Linked DNA regions of Homo sapiens: region 2 is linked to region 1. The links are contacts of gene promoters, found by promoter capture Hi-C in human tissues and cell types (Jung and others, 2019). All regions are on one chromosome and are shown on one strand. The core of a region is centred on a gene start or on the middle of the fragment in contact, and the rest is flanking DNA. Distances in the headings are between cores, read along the strand shown. Region 1 holds the start of SDAD1 (SDA1 domain containing 1). Region 2 holds the start of STBD1 (starch binding domain 1).

The links. Contacts are between HindIII fragments. The study calls those that stand out against the background at their distance.
Region 2: a contact is called between a fragment that was not itself captured here and the fragment with the promoter of SDAD1 in region 1, in 1 of the 25 tissues and cell types used here (dorsolateral prefrontal cortex).

What each region holds. Positions count from the first base shown.
Region 1 is chr4:75,988,566-75,993,687 of GRCh38, reverse strand. It overlaps SDAD1 (SDA1 domain containing 1), which reads left to right and starts at 2,743. Exons shown (of 22, transcript NM_018115.4): 1 at 2,743-2,936. The coding sequence starts at 2,847. The region is part of intron 1 of SDAD1-AS1 (SDAD1 antisense RNA 1); the gene reads right to left. The HindIII fragment of the contact is 8,316 bases long and covers 443-5,122 here.
Region 2 is chr4:76,305,356-76,311,059 of GRCh38, reverse strand. It overlaps FAM47E-STBD1 (FAM47E-STBD1 readthrough), which reads right to left. Exons shown (of 7, transcript NM_001242939.2): 7 at 1-1,916. The coding sequence ends at 1,887. STBD1 (starch binding domain 1) reads right to left here and starts at 4,327. Exons shown (of 2, transcript NM_003943.5): 1 at 4,071-4,327; 2 at 1-1,916. The coding sequence starts at 4,290. The coding sequence ends at 1,060. The HindIII fragment of the contact is 3,427 bases long and covers 702-4,128 here.

The DNA.
Region 1 (5,122 bases), core at 1,494-3,993:
CCCAGCTACTAGGGAGGCTGAGTTTAGGAGTTCAAGGCTGCAGTGAGCTATGATCATGCCACTGCACTCCACCCTTGGTGACAGAGCAACACCCTATCTCTTAAAAAGAGACTTGAACATGAATGTTCACAGCCAAAACTGGAAACAACCCAAATATCCAGCAACTAGTGAATGGATAAACAAATTGCAATATGTCTATATGATGGAATACTACTCAGGAATAAAAGGAGTGAACTATTGATACATACAACACCATGGATACATTTCAAAATAATTATGCTAAGTGAAAGAACCTTGACCTCAAATAATAGGTACTGTATGATTCCATTTGTATACAATTCCAGCAAACACAGACATATCTTTGGTGACAGAAAGCAGATGTGTGTTTGTCTGGGGATGATGAGGCACAAGGAACGTTTGGGGATGATGGATATAGTCATTATTTTGATTGTGATGATGGTTTTATGGGTACATACATATGTCAAAACTTATCAAATTGTTCACTGGGTAGTTTGTTGTACATCAATTATATCTTAATAAAGCTATAAAATAAATACATTATAATTTTAAAAATAAAGGATGGAATTTCACATGAAAGCAGAGATGTTGGCCTTAGATACCCAAATTATTTAACATCTGAAAAATATATATTCAGTTAGCCACTCTTAGTCTTAGAGTTCTCATTTATCAAAAACAAATCCTGCCTTCCATGCTGCTGGAGGTAAAATGAACTGACCTATATGCCCTCCTTAGAATAGCAATTAAAGCCTTTCATATCAGGACAATATAACCTTCTCAGCTCTTTCCCTGCTGCACCCTGCCCTCCCAGCCTTTAGTCACACCAAACTTATGGCTATTGTTTCAATACACCAGACATTTTCAAGTACCTGTACGCAGTCTTTTTTCTTTTTTTTTTTTTTTTGAGACAGGGTCTCACTGTATTGCCCAGGCTGGTGTGCAGTGCTTCACTGCAACCTTAACCTCCTGGGCTCAAGCAACCCTTTTGCTTCAGCCTCCTCAGTAGCTTGGACCACAAGCCTGTGCCACCATGCCTGGCTGATTTTTCAACTTTTTGGTAGAGATGGGGTCTCACTATATTGCCCAGGCTAGTCTTGAACTACCCAGCTCAAGTGGTTCTCCCACCTTGGCTTCCCAAAGTTCTGGGATTACAGGCTTGAGCTACCACACTTAGCCAGATTTTGTTTTGAGAATACTTTTTTTGCCCTCACTAAAACAACCTAGCCAAAAAATTTTAATTTAAATCTATGCTTTTTAAAAAAGATTTATTGCTGACATTTATTTCTTAACTTCACAGGTAACTGATTTGATAATTAATAAATAAGTCATTCTCCAAAAGCAGCTGAATAACATGGTTTGTGAAGCATTCTTTATTTTGTGTGCAGGTGTGATTACAGAGTTGTTTTGTTTGGGGCTCATTTTATCATCGTCACAGATGAGGTTGGCGTTCTATAAAATTGCTTTGGTTAAGCAGAACCCTATTGTCTGGCTATTTTGCCAGACCAGCAACCAGCTACCAGCTGTTAGGCTATGTTTTTTCTCATGTAGTTACAATCAAGACTGTCTAGATTGAAATCTCATCTTCCTCACAGGCTATGAATTGAGGCAGTCAACTTCCCTGAGCTTGTTTCCTCTTCTGTAAAATGTAGATAACAATAGCACCTATTTTAGAGGGTTGTTCTGAGGATTAAATAAGTTAATACAAGTGCTTGGAATAGTGCCTGGCACAGGGTGGGTAATTAGGTTTTTTTTTCTCTCTCTCTAATTCACAACACCCTACCTCATTCATTCAACCCTTATTGATTTTTTACACCTTGAGATTGTAGAAATGTATTCTCCTCTTCGAATTACCAGGATCTGAATTAAAAACTCTGACTGAGGAGTGCTTACAAAGCTTATAACGATGGTTGAATTTTAACGATTAATTGCATTTATTAATGGTCAACATGATCACATTTTATCCAGCCCTCTTTTCCCTTGTATGGGTCACGCTAAGTTGAAACAACCAAAACCAAAATAAAAACATATCTAAAATCATACACATTAACTTATATGACCCTCGTTGCTCTTTTTTCCTCCTAAGAGGGAATAGTGTTATCTAGCGCCACGGTTCTTTTCAGTTTTGTTTTGTTTTGTTTTGTTTTTTATACGGAGTTTCGCTCTTGTTGCCCAGGCTGGAGTGAAATGGTGCAATCTCGGCTTACCGCAATCTCCGCCTCCTGTGTTCAAGCGATTCTCCTGCCTCAGCCTCCCTAGTAGCTGGGATTACAGGCATGCGCCACCACGCTCGACTAATTTTGTAATTTTAGTAGAGACGGGGTTTCTCCATGTGGATCAGGCCGGTCTCGAACTCCCGACCTCAGGCCCGCCTTGGCCTCCCAAAGTGCTGGGATTACAGGCGTCAGTTTCTAATTTTAGACTGCGGGATTAAAAATAAACGATTAATCCTCATTTATGTGCTTCATATGGGTGTCGGAATGACGATACATGCTAACACACGTGAAAAAATTTACATTTCAGATCCTTTCAGAAACGCAAGGCAATATTAAGTAGTAGCATATGCCCAAGGGCGAGGGGCGGGTCGGCGGTGGCTGGCTCTCCAATACACCACAGAGTATTTTGGCAACGAGAGTAATTTTGACACTCTGAGGCTTCCGTAGCATAGCTCGCTTTAGGAACCGCTAAGGTGTCGCCTGCCTAGAGTCCCATGCGCTATTTCCGGTCATACCCGGAAACACGAGTCCAAGCTGCAGCTGGCAGGGATTGCGGGGTGCCGGCCGTCTGAGTTTTTTTAAAACTGCTCGCCGCGAAGTCTGTCTGCAGCCAAAATGTCCAACAGAAACAACAACAAGCTTCCCAGCAACCTGCCGCAGTTACAGAATCTAATCAAGCGAGACCCGCCGGCCTACATCGAGGAGGTGGGAGTGCGGCGCGGCAGACGCTAGAGGCCGGATAGTGGATGGTTGAGACGCCGGTGCGGGAAAGCATGGAGTGGGGCTGGGATCCAGGCTCGCCGCCTATTCTTCTGTTAGGTTCAGGGGTCCCTCCAGAGGAGAGAAGGGGTTGGGGACGGGACATGCCTTAGGGTTCGTTCCCCACCTCTTGAAAATCTGTTGCCCCTTTGGATTTTCTACCTGCCCTGCTGCCGCTGAAACACCTTTAAAACCTCATTTTGTTTTAAGATATTTTTCTTCGTCCGCACGGAAGTGGAGAGAGAAATGGGCCGCACCCAACCACCAACTTCCACGCGGATTTCTCAGCCTCTTTTCAGAAATCCCAAACTTGAATTAGTCGGTAACCTTTGATGAATCGTATGTTAGAATGCTTTCGATTGACGTCCGTTTCTGAGAGCAGGCTGTGTACCCTGGACTGTGCCAGGAAAGGGGGGGGGGGGGTTTCTCAAGCACAACGGACAGACTCGGGAGCTTAGTATATTTAGTTAAGCCAGGATTCAAACTTACCGGAGACTGGCATGACTCGGATGTCAGAATTTGCTTCGGGAAAAGATTAGGTTGAAAAATTAGGCCCTCATTGTGATGGGCTTTGTGTACTGACCTCATGTAAGTTGTGAACATTAGGGGTGTTTGAACCAAGTACCGACAAAACGAAAGTGGTTTTTGATATATTAATCTGACAGGTGCTTCCTTCAGACACTCATTTATCAGACGGGCATTAAACAGGTATCTCTGCTAGGCATTTGCTGCAATTACATGTTTGTGCTTCTACCAGATTGTGATTTGTTCAGTGGCTAACACAATTACTTATTTTTTCATTGCCCTTCTCACTTCCCTCCTCCCCTAAATTTTCACATATATGTATTTTATGAGTGCTTTTTAACACATGGCAATCTCAGTGGCTTAGGTCACCAGTAGAGAAAGCCTCTCCAAGGATCAAGGTAGTGGAAATAAAGAGTAGGAAACAAGTACAAGAAGTTAAGTAACATAGGCAAGGCTTTGAGATGCTTAAAGCATTGTATAGCCATTCGCAAAGAAAGTGGTAAGTTGAGAGTCTATATAATTCCGTTAGATAACTCCTGCTGCTGACTGTTGTTAACCAGTTGTGTAACCGAAGCAGGTTAATCGCTGAGCCTATGTGGGTATTTTAATATGTAAGAAGGGGGTAATAACTACTTCTTTAATTCACTTAAGTATATATGCAAAATCACATATAACTACTGTGTGTTGTTATTCTAGGTAGGCGTTGGGGTACAGTAATGAATAAGACAGATAAGAAAGCATTCTTCTCTTGGACTTACATTCAAGTGAGTGTAGACTTATTATGGTAGAGATTATGAAGAAAATAAAACTGGATGGGAATAGGTTAGAATTGGAGGCTTCTGATTTAGACCCCGTAAACAGGGAAGGTGGCTCTGCAATGATGATATTGAGCCAGGCAGGTAAACATCATTTTAGGTACAAGGAATAGAAAGTGCAGAAGCTACTGGTGGAAAAAAAGCAGAGAAGAAGCCAGTGTAGCTAAAGTGTAGTCAGCATAGAAGAGGGCAGTGGAAGATGATGTAGGAAATGCAGGCAGGGGTCAGCTTATTCAGAGCCTCTTAGGCCCTGTTAACGAGTTTAGATTTCACTCTGAGTGCCTCGGGGAGTGATTGAAGAGTTTTAAGCAGGAGAGTGACATGATCTGACATATTTTTTTTAAGAATTTACTCTGGAAGTTACATGTGGAATGGCTTGTAGAGGAGCAACACTGGAAGCAGGGTAACTAATATAATGGATCTCAGAATAACCAAGCAAGGGATTGTGGTGTCATTGGAATTATGGGCAAAGATTCGTGCTGTTCTACGTGGAGGTAGAGCTAGTAGAGCCTTGGGATTTCTGGTGGAGTGGATGTGGGGGATAAGGAAAAAAGAAGGAATGAAGGATCACCCAGGTTTTTTATTTATATGTCTAGGTAGATGATAGTGCCATTTCCTGAAGTTCGTTCATTTGACAAATACTGTTGATTACCTGCTATATGTAAGGCACAATGCTGGGCCCTGGGACTACATAATATTGAGCTGTACCGATAAAAATTCTATGCTCATTAAATGACATTCTAGTAGGGGGTGATATACAGTAACAAATAATATAGTATGTTAAATAATGAA
Region 2 (5,704 bases), core at 1,166-3,665, 320 kb before region 1:
CAGAGCAAAGATGTATTTCTGTACCACTGTCCTGTATAAATTTGTTACCCAAGATAGTGACTGGTATGAAAGGAGAGGGAAGAGGGTGACAGATGGAAACGATTGCTGTAGGACAGTCCATCTGGCCAGATGCGGTGGGGGAGGGGAGAAGAAGTGGGAGAGAGATGGTCCTACAGATGCTCCCATGGGTAAATGATGGGTGCATCCCTCCCTGCAGTCGGGCTGTGCCTGTACTTCACAGTCCTCTAAGAGGTGTCATTCAGGCCACCTCACTCAGCCTATGCCCAACCCCACTCACTTTCCCTTTCCTTATGGGCTGCCCCCGCAACTGACTTCCATGATGATTGGTTCTCATTAGGCCCTTTGTTTCTACACCAGCCTTAGATCATTAAGACAAAGACGTACTTGCTACCCTCATAGCACATAACAACGCCTGGCAGATGAAAATCAAACAAAAAGCATTAGGCAGTCTTAGAACATTATCTTGTATCCTTACTAATCACATCCAGACCAGATATTTTCTAATCACAGTTTCGTATCATGTTAACTTTTTAAGCATAAAATGTGTATGTAGTAAAAAGTGCTTTTCAAGCTGTACCAATAGGAAGTCAGCTATGTTTGAGTGAGGCTTATTTTACTACCATAGTTTAAAGATCACCTAAAGGCTCAAGCTTGAACCCTGGGCAGCTGGTTAATGTTTTTGCTCCGTGACCACAGTTTACACCTGAAGCTTAGCCAAGTCACTCCCCAAGAGAATCAAGCCCTAAAGTAATAATGGATCAGCACAAGTCTGTCAATCAGTGCCACAGGGAAAAGAAGTTCACATTCACTGGAAGCATTATCTGTGTGTGTGTGCATATATATACACACATACACACATATATATTTCTGCACATTAGACATATATATTTCTGCACATTAGACAAAATCCACTAGCAAATTTAAACAATTCAGATGGCTGAATTTGGAGTCACACTGCCTTTATTTTATTCAGTGTGTTCCACAACCTCAGCCTCTTCCACATTGTTCTACAGCTTCTCCATTACTTTGCAAACTGAATCAGTGAATCCCCCACCATGCGTGAACCACTTTATCCTCATGGCCAGTTTCTAGGAATCTATTGCTGCATTCTTCCCAGCGGGTAACTCCCCCATTCTCTACCAACACAAACTTCCACTCCACCACTGTATCTGCAGGCAGGAAAATGGAATGAGACCAGAACCCATCCTTGTTATAGTGGAGTGGGATGTAAGTGTTCCATCTCCCAAGACACTCATGGTCTCCAGTTACTGCAATGAATTGCACATCAGTGCTTGTGACATAATGGACCTGGAACCTGACACTAACTTGCTGAGACCCTGCAGGCATCACTGCTACCCTTTCCATTTTCCCATGCACTTGCTGACCTCTTGCTTCCACCAAAGTGCTTCTTCCATTGTCCATTCCCTGGTTTAGGTTTAACACTGGAGCCTTAAGACTGCCACCCACACCAACATCCCCCCAAGATGAGTGCCTAGGCACCATTTCCCACTCCTCGTGGTCAACCCGGTCCTGACTGTTCAAATCAGAGAGGCTCATTTCTTCTTTAGCTCTGTTCTTGAGCAGGTTGCTAGAAGGCAACTTCTCTGCAAAACATGTAGCTGCTTTAGCAGATATCTCTTGTCCTTTTTGGAATCCCCATTCTCCCATAGGAGATTCAAGGCTTTCATTTCTTGAAACTTCAGAGTAACTCCTAGAGTTACTGGTCTCAGAGGTAGCTGGAGCTTCTGTGTCTGGAAACTGTCCAGAAGGAACATGTTCTCTTGAATTGTCACAGACTTCCCTGGAAGGATTCTGCAATCTCCATGATGCTGCTTGCAGTTTACCAAGGTCTTTGGTCTTAGAAATCAAATGTCCATTGCTTTCTTGAAGATGCTCTAAGAAATCAAAGGAAAAATGTAATAGAGTCAGGTAGTTCATTTAAGAAAAAAGTCAGGCTGAGAAAATAGATTTAGTTACTGAAAGCTTTACTACTAATCAATCTGCAATTCACAAAGTCCCCCTCTATTAAAATCAAGTACTACTTAATTAACCAGTATGCTCCCAACACTGTGCTCTAAGAATACACATGTATATCTGACAACAAAAGGGACATCCAGGAGTATCAGTGTGCCAGCACAAGTGTAAATGAAGTGGTAAGCTGTAGAGGCAGACGTGTAACCCCCCCATGGTCCCCAGTCTCCACAGTCCAGGCCATACTGGCATGCAGCCAAGTTAAGTTGCTTGGCTCCTATCATCAAAGAATGTTGTCCAGGCTGTGGGGCAAAGGGCTGCGTGGCTACGTTACAAACCAGAAGAGTACACTTGTTCTCCCAGGGGAGGCATGCAGGGCAGGGATTGGCTCTCGCAGACCTGCGGGCAGATCAGCAGGAGCTGTCACCTTGGGGAGATACGGAGAACAGTAGTGCTTCCCTGGGCAGGAGTGGAGGGAGAACTGGGGGAAGGGGCTGGTTTCTCCTTGCCAATCCCATATGCGTTAGGAACCTCCCCAACAAAACGGTGTTTTGTATCCCCTTCCATTGTAAGCATTTTTTAAAAAACGTTCTTAAAAATACAAAATCCAAGTCCTCTAAAAATGCAGTTTCCTTCTTGGCCATGCCATTGGTAGTCCAAATAGCTCCCTACAAGATTGAAATCTCCAAATCATACATACAATCAGCACAGCTGTGGTTTTATGTGGTGTGGGGGTGGTGGTGGTATGGGGACAACAGTCTTGTTTCATTTTATCCCTTTTTTTTTTTTTTTTTTGAGATGGAGTCTCGCTCTGTCACCCAGGCTGGAGTGAGTGCAGTGGTACGATTTCGGTTCACTGCAACCTCTGTCTCCCGGGTTCAAGCGATTCTCCTGCTTTAGCCTCCCAAGTAGCTGGGACTACCGGCGCCTACTACCACGCCCAGCTAATTTTTGTACTTTTAGTAGAGACAGGGTTTCACCATATTGGCCAGGCTGGTCTCGAACTCCTGACCTTGTGATTTGCCCGCCTCGGTGATGGTGGGAGTTGGAAGTGAGAATGAACAAATATTATTCTGGATTCCCAACTTTTCAACCTAAAGCATGAGATTGGTCTTCAGAAAAAAGATAAGTGAACTGTCTAGGCATCCCAGACCAATCACAGTAAAGGCACACGGGCAGATTTTCATATGGCTGCACATGAACACCACTGGGCTAAAAATAAAGTTCACAGATGTCATTTTCACCATTAGGCTTCTGTCCAGGCATGGGCAGCTTGCCAAGGGAGGGCACTGGACGGTAAGCTTTTCTGCCAGTGTTCGCTCTCTGCTTAGCAAACGGTCCCTAAAATACAGAAATTTAAACCCAGATGTCAATTCTACTCATCAGGGTTGGGTCCCCTATTTAAGTAGTCCCTTCCTAGGGATGACTATCCGGCCCTATTCTGGGGCAGCGTGGAGGGGACTGCCGACAGTGCTGAAAGGGGTGACCAAGGCACATCCCCAGGGCCTCAGCCACAGCCTTCATGGCCAGAGTCCAACCTGAACTTTGCCTTCCTAAAGAAGCATCCAGATAGCAGGAGGCGCCCGCAGTTCGGGTGTTCCCAAACCCAGCTCTTCATGGGCTGTGCGATGGGAGGATGTCAGACTACCCGGATTGGGACTTAGAAAATGTCCCTGCTTGGGCAGAGATCGAAGAGGCTTGTAGGATCCCCTAAACCTAAGCCCCCCTTTCCAAAGGCCGGGAAGGGGCGCCGCCACTGCAGCCGCCCGCACTGCACCAAGCGCCGCCAAGTGGAGGAGCTCATCCCCGCCGGAGGGGCAGGACCAAGTCCTCAGGCGCGGGCGCTGAGGGACTCGGCAAGGGCGCGGCCCTTGGAGGACCAGACAAGAAACCTGCCTGCGCGTACCAACCAGCCTGGGAAACCGAGGGGCGTGGGGATGGCCCAGTCCCCTTAGGAGAGCCCGTCCGCAGGAATGGGCCCCTAGGAAAGCTCCAGGTGGGTTTGTCTCTTTGCTCCCTTCCTCGATGAACCTCAAAGCTCTGGCAGATGTGCCCTGGAGTCACGGGGGGAAGAATACCTGGTTTGGTGACCAGCTCCTGCCCGGAAGGTCCAGGGCTCAGTCCGCTGCTGCCACTCTGATGGCCTCCCGGAATCGCAGCTCCCCCAAGAGGGGCGTCTTTCTCCTGCTCCGCATCCCCGTCCTTCCCGGTGTCGCCAGGGCCGCCCCGCAGCAGCCAAACGAAAAGTGCTCCGGCCAGACCCCCTCCAACCAGCAGGGCGGACCAGACGGCGCCCATGGCTGAGAGGCCGCGGCCGCAGGAGACTACAGGGACTGGGACCGGGGCTCAGGTCACGCACACAGAGCCACACCTACCCCGCCCGCTCCAGCCTTTTACGGTTTCTGCGCCGGGCACTCCGGCGGAGCCCGGCCCTGAGCGACCAGTACTCAACTTTCCCAGCCCCGCCCCGCTCCCCGCCCCTGGGCTGCAGCCCCGGGCTCCCTCCCGGGGAAGACTCCAGCGCTCTTCTGTCCCTACACTTTCTGTTCCCGGCCTTGCCAGTTGCCAGCGGCCAGGGGCGCAGGGGTCGGCGTTCCACGTGTGTCCCGCGTGAAGAACCCAAGTGCGCACAACTGCCCCGCGCAGCCGGGACCTGCCCCACCGCCCTTCCTTCTTCCGCCTGCTGCCCGCGAGGCCCAGCCCTGCCTCGGCCCGCACCGGGCACCTCGGCGCCTTCTCCCCAGGGAAGCTCAGCAGCAACGCGGTCAGCTAGAGGCCGAGAGCTTCCTGGAACTTAGAGGTGGGAGAGGCCGCGGGCGTCGGTGACGCGCGGGCTGGAGCGCGGGCTAGAGCGGTGGCGCGTTCGGGTGGGATGGGTGGCCCGGAGGACGGCGGGCGCGGTGCGGGGAAACTGGGAGCCCTAGTGGAAGCTCCGCTCCGCCGCCAGCTCAGCGCGCTTAGCCTCCCCAAGCTTCCGCCTCCTCGCCTGTAAAATGGAAGGACTGGACTGAGGACCATCCATCTAAAGATGCCAGTCAGCTCAATCACATCCAGTCTCGTCCTCTTTGGGCGTGTATGGCTGCTGCGAAATGCGCACGCATCTGTATGAACTGGATGTTGTCCATGGACGAGCTCCTACAGATAAGTTTGTTAATAAAAACAGCAGCTCTTTATTAAGCACTGTCTGTATTCCGGATGTTTTAAGTGTGTATTTAATTTAATCCTCACAAGACAACAACCCTGTGCGGTGTTATATATATTTCTTTGTAAATCCTTTCCTCTGCTGATCTGATGACTTTGCACAACAGCTTCAAGCTGATGATCCCCACGTCTATGTCTGCAGCTCACACCTTTCCCTTGGACTCCGACATTCAACTGCTAAAGGCCACAGATACCAAACACCTGCCTTGGAGTAATTGCTATAATTGCTCTCTCTGGTAGGGCAAATTATCTAATGTGCCCCTTGCTCCGAATGGACAGTAGCCCTTAACGGGGTGCAAGGTTCTGCCAGTGGGGTTACTGGAAGGCTGATGCACGCCTTGATGCAGGCCACAACTTCTGTAATCATAAGAGAGGAGGTAGAGGAGAGGTGAGGGCGAAGACTGCCTACTGGGCATCTCCTCGTGGATGTCTAATAGACATCTCAAACCCAACTCATCCAGACCTGAACTCCCCACCTAACTCCCCAAACCTACTACTCTCCCCACCTTCC